Regions from separate parts of the Homo sapiens genome. Here region 2 is linked to region 1. The links are contacts of gene promoters, found by promoter capture Hi-C in human tissues and cell types (Jung and others, 2019). All regions are on one chromosome and are shown on one strand. Each heading gives the region's core, a stretch centred on a gene start or on the middle of the fragment in contact. The rest is flanking DNA. Distances are from core to core; before and after follow the strand shown.

Region 1 (4,552 bases), core at 783-3,282:
TGATTATATCAATGTTATCACATTCTAGTAGTTTCTTAGCAGTGCGAATGAAAATTTTCATATTATTAGCTATTTTTATTCTTTTTCAAATTGCCTATTGATCTTTTGCAGATTTTTCTAAGAGCAGGCATTTTCTTGATTTGTTGATTTTTTTTTTTTCTTGAGCTCTAGACACTAAGAAAATGAAAGAAAGCATATACACTAAGGCTTCATTTGAGAAAACATTATCTCCAGTTTCCATCTTGAGCTCTCTGCCAGGCTACAGCTTTTACATTCATAACTTCACTGTTTTCTCTTTGGTCCAGAAAAGCTTTCCTTACCCATGACTGTATAAATAGTCATTATGGTTGGCAGCCACAGTTTCCATTGCAATGTGACAGTCTTGATTTTTCCCATGGAAAGTGTGGTATTTGTGTCCGGGCTATGAAATTGGTAATGTCATTCCTGTTTCACAGATGAGGAAACTGGGGTTCAGAGAGCGAAAGTGTGGTCCTGCCAGGAGTAGTGGAGCTAAGACTGAACCTCACACCTCGGGGCCAGCACCCAGGCCTGCTATGTCCTCTCTGTCCCTGACCTAGTGGGTAGCCAGAGCTGAGAGGACAGAGCAGAGCTTGAGAGGAACAATATTTCGTGAGGCATGTGAGGATTGAAAGCCTCATAGAGTCCTTCAGCCATGCTCTTGGCATAAGGACTGATGTGTTTATAGTGACTGGTGAATTGTCAGACCTCAACCAACCACCGTTCTCCACTGGAAGCTGATCTTGGAAAGGTCAGAGGTCCCGAGGGTCTGCAGGTGGGAAGGAGGAGACTGACATTTATTGAGCACCTACTTGGTGCCAGACACTGAAAGTATTAGAGATTAAGGGTGACTTGCCTCTGTTCTGGCCCCAAAGAAGCACCATCTGATAGAAAAATAAGTAGCAACATGGTATGGTAGAGTCTGGAATGGGGTTTACTGTGAATTGCGTAGGGCGTGGCAGAATTCACAGTAAAAGGTTTTTGGAAGAAGTGACACCATGGTGGGGTATTACTGAGCAAAGGGGAAAAGGAGGGAGGGAGAGGAGGTAAGAATATACAAGGCTCCGCTGGGCGCGGTGGCTCAGGTCTGTAATCCCAGCACTTTGGGAGGCCAAGGCAGGCGGATCACAAGATCAGGGAATCGAGACCATCCTAGCTAACACGGTGAAACCCCATCTCTACTAAAACTACAAAAAAATTAGCCGGGCGTGGTGGCGGGCCCCTGTAATCCCAGCTGCTCGGGAGGCTGAGGCAGGAGAATGGCGTGAACACGGGAGGCGGAGCTTGCAGTCAGCCGAGATTGCGCCACTGCACTCCAGCCTGGGCGACTGAGCGAGACTCCCGTCTCCAAATAAATAAATTAATTAATTAAAGAATACACAAGGCTCCACTGGGTTACTGGGTGTGCTGTAGGGAGATTTTATTGAATCCCATACTCCCATATTGGAAGAACACTCAAGCCCATTTACAGTGTGGGACTAATGCTGAGAGGTTGAGTCACATTGGCAGGAAAGAGCAGAGCCAGGAACTGAAGCTAGGTCTGTGACTTAGAGCCGGCACTCTTTCCACTGCAGAGGGGAGAGGTCTCAAGGCAGAACCTGGGGCTGTGCACACCGCGGGAAGGGCAGAGGCCCCTGGAAACGAACAGGAGCAGGAGGCCCAGGGCTGCGCAGCAACCAAGGAGGACACGAGGAAGGTGCTTGTGCCACCGGTGGAAGACGTGGCTTTGGCTTTTAGGCTCCCCTCGGGGCAGGAGCAGATCAAAGAGCCTAGCCCCAGCTTCGGTGGTGGGTGGGGGGTCCTCCCGGCAGCGGGGAGCGTGGGCACCAGCATCCTCAGCCTGCGGCTCCCAGGCGAGTGTGGGAGGGCAGAGCCCAGAGAATTGGAGGTGGGGCCAATGTGGGCCCCGCCCCCAACCATTGTGTCGGAGAGGGAAGTGGACGAGCTCCTCGGTAAGAACCAATGAGGATGTGGTATGCAAATAAGCAAGTGGAGGCCGCCAGCCGACTTCCTCGCACTGTGCAGCTGCTCCAGTGAGGGCGCAGACTGTACTGGCCTGTGCGGAGCAAGGCGGTGTTTCTGGTGAGTCTGTTGATTCTGGGCTGGGGTGAAAGCCAGGTTGCCCAGGGTTTGGGAGGAGGGCGGGTCGAGCACACGCAGATCCAAAGATGATCGGAGACAGGATTGTCCTCAGCGATTCCACCCCGATGACTCTGGAAACTGCCTGCCTGCAGACGCATGGGGGCCATGGAGCAGAGGAAGGGCTGGATGCATGAAGGAGGCGGGGTGCGGGGAGCGAGGGACCCGCAGACTCCAGGGCCACAGATGCGTGGACCTATTGGAGACCCTCAGGTTGTCTCCCCACCCCACGCAGAGAGGAATGCGCAGCTGAAGAGAGAGGTGGGCAGCAGGCCCGGTCACCTGCCAGGTGACCACATGGCCAGGTGCCGCCACCACTCGGGTTACCTGGCCGATGACGAGGCCAGCCACTCCATGTGCAGTGCACGGGTAAGTGTGCCCAGCAGGGCGCCGACCCTTGAGGCCACAACATGTTCCCCACCAACCCTGGCACCCAAGACCACAACCCCCATTTCTCATTGTCTATTGACTTCTCTGGGCCTCTTAGTGAAGTCCTTATTGCCTTGACTTCTCCTATGTCCCCCACTGCTTGCCCCTGTCACACTCAATTTCATTCCTTGTTTCCTCCTGACTTCCAGCGACCCAGAAGGTGCTTGGGTGGACTGGGACCCTAGAGTGGGAGCATGGAGTTGACTAGGTGCCTATGGCTCAAGTTGGAGAAACAGGCCCGGGTAGCACAGGGCTCAAGACCTCAGGTGTTGTCTGCACTCAAGACCTCAGATGTTGTTTGCAGCCCTGCCATGGATACAGGGATGGCCTGCTGCATGGACAGATGAGGAGCTGGAGGGAGACTCCGAGAGATTCATGATTGCTCATCCTGCCACGTGTCAGGGCAGAAGCAGGCTTGCAGACTCCTTAGCCAGGACTTGTGTGTGTGAAATGTAGGTGTTAGGAAAGCTTCGGGGTGACCCTGAATAGACCTCCACTTTGCAGATGAGGACATTGGACCTCAAGAGGGGCCATCTTGCACACTGGCATCAGGCTGTAGGTGGCAGAGCCAGGGTCCAAACCCAGGGCTTCCAGACTCCAAAATGCAGCTCCTTCCACTACTCACTCCCACCCAGGTCCTAGTGTTACCCCAGGGAACCCTTCACCTGTAGGGCACCCCTGCCCCCTGTGACATACCTGTCTGCTCAGGTGCAGCTGCCCAAGAAGCCACTGGTCCCAGAAATGCGGCCAGCCTGCAAGCCGGGCCGTGTGCCACACCCACCATCCACATGTGGCAGCTCAGCACTCCAGGGCCAACGCCGAAACAAGAGGCACCCTCAGCCCTTTGGCCACTTTCTGGATTTCCTAACTGAGAGCCAGGTCCTGGACAGCCTGGAGACAGTGGTGGAGAAGGCGACTGAGCGCATGGCTGCCATGAAGACGGAGGCTGGGGTGCCGCTTGTGGAGGTGCAGGACCCAGTGGAGGTGCCAAGTGGTGGACGGCGGGCACATGCCCGGCCCAGCCTCAGCACCGTACACCGGCACCGTGTACGGCCGACCCTCTGCACTGGACACCCCAACAACTACCCATCCAGCTCCAGCTCCATGTCCAACTGCCATAGCAGCCTCATGGCCGGCTGTCTGGGCTCCCACAGCCGGGACAGTGACCTAGGTGCCCAAGGCTCATTGCCACCTGTGAGGGACAAACTCCTGCTGGAGAAGAACCTCAAGCGGCTGCTACAGCTGGAGAGGGAAGGGGTGAGAGCCAGGGCCATGGCTGGGTGGGGTGGACTCCCATGGAGAGCCCAGGGCTAGGGTCAGCCCTGGCTTGGCTGCTCCTGAACACTTCACAGAGTCACCCTCTTTCTGCAGAAAGGCCTCAGTCAGTCCTGCTCCCAGAGGGACTCCCTGCTGTGGGATTCGCTGGGTAGCCAGACCAGCTTTCAGTGGACACAGGAGCAGCCCTTGTCCTGGTTCTCAGGGCTGCTGGGCTCAAGCTCTGGCGTGCCTGAAGCATCAGAGCCGAGGCCTGGAGAACAGGAGCCAATCTTCCGCAAGCGAGAGTTCAATAAGGAGATCAAGTCATTACTGAGCCAGCTGGAGTCCCTCGACCTGCCTGGCTACTGTCCGCTCCGTGAGCCCCATCGCACGCTGAACTTCCTGGCTGACCACCGCCTCTTCCCTGCCCTGCAAAGCGTGGTCAGCCAGGCTGTGGATAAGCTCCGTGGCGCCCACTGCCGCGACGGCCGTCCTCTGTTCCCCACCAGCTTGGAGCCCACCTCAGATCTGCCGCCTCTGGGCTCTGAGCCAGCTAAACCCACCAATGGCGGGCAGCCCTATGCTTCCCCCCGCCCCACAGTCTCCAGCCCCAAGATGCTTCAGAGAAAACGCAAGGACAGAGGAGGCTCCCCCTCCATGTCTAGTGCCCAGGTGGCCACCAGATTCAAACTCAAGGTGACACCCACGG
Region 2 (4,552 bases), core at 978-3,477, 370 kb after region 1:
ACGGTCCACCACAGAGCAGGGCTTTGTGCAAGGAGGGGGATGTTCTAGACCTGCACTGTCTAATGTGGGAGCCCCAAGCCACATGTGGCTACTGAGTACTTGAAATGTGGCTAGCATGACTAAAGGACTGAATTTTAAATTAAATTAAATTCTAATTAATTGCAATCTAAATAGCTTCATGTAGCCAGATGCTACACTTCTGGACGGCAGAGTTCTAGGATCTATGCTAGTCAGAGACAAGAAACATTCATTCACAGTCTCACAAGCTATGAAATCTATTTGTATGAGGCCACTACGGCCTTGGCAACAAACTGGGCAAGGACAGAGGACAGTATAAGAAAGGACAATTATTGGCCAATCATACATAGGAAGCTATCTAGCAAAGGCTTAAATACTAGCAAATCAAATCAAACGCCTGGCACACTAAATCTATAAATATCTCTTACAAATAGTGATCAAGAACGATTGAGCAAGAATGGTTAATGTTAGGTTTATTAATTATTAATGTCAATGCATTTGAGAAAATCAAAGAAGAAATAGAAGGCAAGGTTCTGAACCTGATATTTAGTAGTGGTGTTTTATAAACATTGCTTTTTTTTTTTGAGACGGAGTCTTGCCTGTCGCCTAGGCTGGAGTGCAGTGGCACAATCTTGGCTTACTGCAAGCTCCACCTCCTGGGTTCACGCCATTCTCCTGCCTCAGTCTCCCGAGTAGCTGGGACTACAGGTGCCCGCCACCACGCCCGGCTAATTTTTTGTATTTTTAGTAGAGACGGGGTTTCACCATGTTAGCCAGGATGGTCTTGATCTCCTGACCTCGTGATCCACCCGCCTTGGCCTCCCAAAGTGTTGGGATTACAGGCGTGAGCCACCGCGCCCAGCCAACATTGCTTTTAAAGTTAGAAACAAGATGAAGATGGTGTGGCCACCATGAGAGTGTGCCCTGCACCTCCAACTCAGGAAATGCACCTGAACCAAGGGCCCCACCCACTGCCCTTAGGAATCCCTGGCAGCCTTAAGGCCCAAGTCACACCACCACATGCTGCTCACCAACAATGACTGGGGACAGATCAGTTCCTGGGAGACAATGTGACAGACTAGTTCCTGGGAGACATCACTCCTCTGACAACCACCTTTGGCTTCAGGACTCCCTGATAGCTTTGCTAAATCTTCCTGAGTGCACACGTTTCCACCCAACCTTCCCTCCAGTTCTGCTTCACCAAACACAGCGATGTAGGTCAGTGGGGTCTCCATGCCTTCCCGCTCACCCCTCAATGCCCCTCATAGGGGGCTCCCCTAGTAAAAATCCTTGGATGTTTTTCCATCTTGGTATCTGCTTCTAGCAGGACTTTGATGGAGTTTAGGATGTGCCTTCCCAAAATACAGCAACTTGGCATACTGAATATTTTAAGCTGAAGGAATTTGAGAAATGGCATGGGCAGGCAGGATTTTCTGACCTTCCCCTGTAGTAGGTATAAGACCCTCCTGTGAGAGGTACTCCCCCTATACAGGAAGGAAAGGCATATCCTTATTTCCAAAGATGAACGCTTGCCAAGAGGGATCTGAACACACAGGCCCGCTGTTCCGCCATTTTATTACACTTGGCTCATACTCTCATACTTCTTTTGTCTTATCATTATTTCTCCATGACTAATCAAAATTTTTTTCTCTCTCTATATATAAACATATATATATAATATATGTGTGTGTGTGTGTGTGTGAGAGAGAGAGAGAGAGAGAAAGACAGAGAGACAGAGAGAGACAGAGAAAGAAAGAGAGAGGGAAAGAGAGGAGCTGTATCATGGGTATTTTTGTTGATGTCTGAATTAGAAACAAGCATGCACACTATCAACATTGTTTGGGAAAGTTGTAGCCGGTGCAGTAAGACACATAACAATAGGGTTGTCTAGGGCAATAAAAAGAGGCAAACGATTATGTACATAGTGTAGGAAAAAATGGTGTTGCGGCTCAGAATGTCACCCCGAAATACGGAACTTTGAAGGTGTCTCTCTGACTTTTCCCTGCCTTTCTGTGTGAGAGCTAGTCATAAAGGAATTCTTTGACCTTCCTTTCCTGAAAGTAGGCAGTGAGACCTCCACCCCATGTGACAGGTGTCCTGTCCTATTACCAGGAGGAAAGAAATGCTACACAGAGGGGCCAAGAAGAATCTGAATGAACAGGCCTTGCTAAGTTCTCCCCAGCTTATTACCATTAGACCACAGGTTTTTTGTCCAATCATACTTGTACATGACTGTCCATCCTTCATCAAACCTAAGCATACATATATACAGATAGTCAGGTGCAGTGACATGCACCTGTAATCCCAGGTACTTGGGAGGCTGAGGCAGGAGGACTGCTTGAGCCCAGGAATTCAAGGCCGGTCTGGGCAATACAGTAAGATCCCAGTCTCTAAAAAAAATTTTAAATTAAGAACTACAGTTCTCCCTGGGTCTTTGAGTCTTCATTTCTGAAGGTTCCTGTATCACGCAAAACTTTGATACATTTGTTATGGTGTCCTCTTGTTAATCTGCCTTTTTAAAATAGGGGTATCAGCAAAGACCCTTGAGATGGGTGAGGAAAAGCTATGATTTTTTCTCCTCTACAGTGGAAAGCAATGGATCCTCTGTAATGTACCCTTCTGGGTTATCAGATTTGAGTCCTGTTCATTATCTTTGAGCTATTTTTTAACTTTATAAGTTGTAGGTAACTGATAGACATATAAATTCTGTCTGGTCTGGTAATGATTTTCTCCTAACTTCTACCTGTGGAAAATTTTGTCTCCATCTGAAATTCATCTCAACATCCCTTCATGTCATATAAATATGTGCTGTCTTAACTCTTCTTTAACATCTGCCTGGTACTTCATATTATATGAGTAAAATAAATTCTTTAATACATGTTCATTTCTATATCTGTATAAAGTCACAATTCTACTTTTCTGAAAATTATCTTTTAACAATTGGAAGCTAAAAAGGATAAAATAGGAAACAGTTAATATAATTAATAGGAGTATTTCTGCTGATGTGACTGCACAAGAGTGCCCAGTATTTCCAGCAAGAACTGAGCTGTAAATGTATAATGGCAGAAGTAATGTAGATGTATGAAATAAACTATTCACTCACTTTTTTCTGTCATCTAGGGATGACAATAAATGTGAAAACAGTATTAAGAATTAAAAAATTAATGTAATGGAGTAAAATTAATAAATGGAAAGATGTAAATGGATGAGGAGAGCAAATATTGAAAAGATATAAATATTGTTATAGTTAGGACATTTTAAATAATGTCTAATTATGACTTTAATCTAGAAGAAATAACAAAAACAAAACTAAGAGAAGACTATTGAAGAGATACTAATGTGAAATTAATTCAAACTGGCTGGGCGTGGTGGCTCATGCCTGTAATCCAGCACTTTGGGAGGCTGAGGTGGCTGGATCACCTGAGATCAGTTTGAGACCAGTCTGGCCAACATGGTGAAACCCTGTCTCTACTAAATATACAAAAAAGAAAAAATTAGCCATGCATGGTGGTGCATGCCTGTAATCCCAGCTACTCGAGAGGCTGAGACAGGAGAATCACTTGAACTCGGGAGGCAGAGGTTGCAGTGAGCCAAGATCCGGCCACTGCATTCCGGTCTGGGCGAGACAGTGAGACCCTGTCTCAAAGAAAAAAAAAAATTCAAACTTAAAGTTACTGGAAATTGAAATTATTCTGAGCCTTGAGAGAAATGTGGCTATGTGGCCTGAGTCATGTAATATGCAGCTGCAACTTCTACTTCTCTGATTTAAATCAACTTTCTTCCTTATTCTTGTACTATAGAAAATTAGGAAGACCTAATGGCACCGGATATAGGACCCCTTCAGATCACTACCTCTTCTCAGGGAGTAACAAAGTAATCTTTCTTGGAATATAGCATTCTATAACCAACCAAATCACTGTAATGAATGCACTGGTTTTGTATGGAAAACTCTGCAATCCTGCTAAAATTTCTCTGTCTCTGCCTACATAAGTGAAACCTTAACTTCACTGCTTTGGAACGCTGACCCCGTTCATCTGGAGTTAGTGTTTCCTGGGTGGCTATACTCAAGCTTTGTGCGCAAATAAACTCTATATTTAATCATGTGTTCTGATCTCACTATTTAACATTAACACTAATATTACCATATGTTTACATAAAACAATATTATGTTGACCTGAGAACAGAAATCAATCCGTGAAAACACATAGAGCAAGCTCTCCCAAGAGCTTGTAGAATTATTGAAGGATCTGATTTTCATTATCCACAGAGCCTGACCATAGGTAGCTTAGGCAAAAAGAGGAACTTTCTGGGAGAGGATTCCATTGTAGCTTACCTAACTGAAGAAAGCTGTCTAACGAAGTCAAGGTCTTGGCAGCAGGAGACCCTGTCTACCCTCTGTTCCCTACCCTTAGAGCTATGCCATAAACCCAGCAGCAAAAAACCCTCCAGGATGGTTCCCTGGCTCTGTCTTCTCTTGCCAAATGTCAAATGGCTATGAGACAGGTAGATTTGTAAGATGCACCACCTAGGAAAG

The links. The method cuts DNA at HindIII sites, captures the fragments that hold promoters and counts their contacts. A contact is called where the count stands out against the background at its distance.
Region 2: a fragment that was not itself captured here is called in contact with the fragment with the promoter of CCDC116 in region 1 in 1 of the 25 tissues and cell types used here (dorsolateral prefrontal cortex).

What each region holds. Positions count from the first base shown.
Region 1 is chr22:21,630,728-21,635,279 of GRCh38, forward strand. It overlaps CCDC116 (coiled-coil domain containing 116), which reads left to right and starts at 2,033. Exons shown (of 5, transcript NM_152612.3): 1 at 2,033-2,100; 2 at 2,393-2,526; 3 at 3,295-3,843; 4 at 3,958-4,539. The coding sequence starts at 2,455. RefSeq lists an enhancer at 1,765-2,264. The HindIII fragment of the contact is 5,816 bases long and covers 1,683-4,552 here.
Region 2 is chr22:21,996,725-22,001,276 of GRCh38, forward strand. It overlaps the pseudogene PRAMENP. Among named protein-coding and RNA genes, the nearest start is that of TOP3B, 16 kb to the left of the region's middle. The HindIII fragment of the contact is 5,385 bases long and covers 1-4,552 here.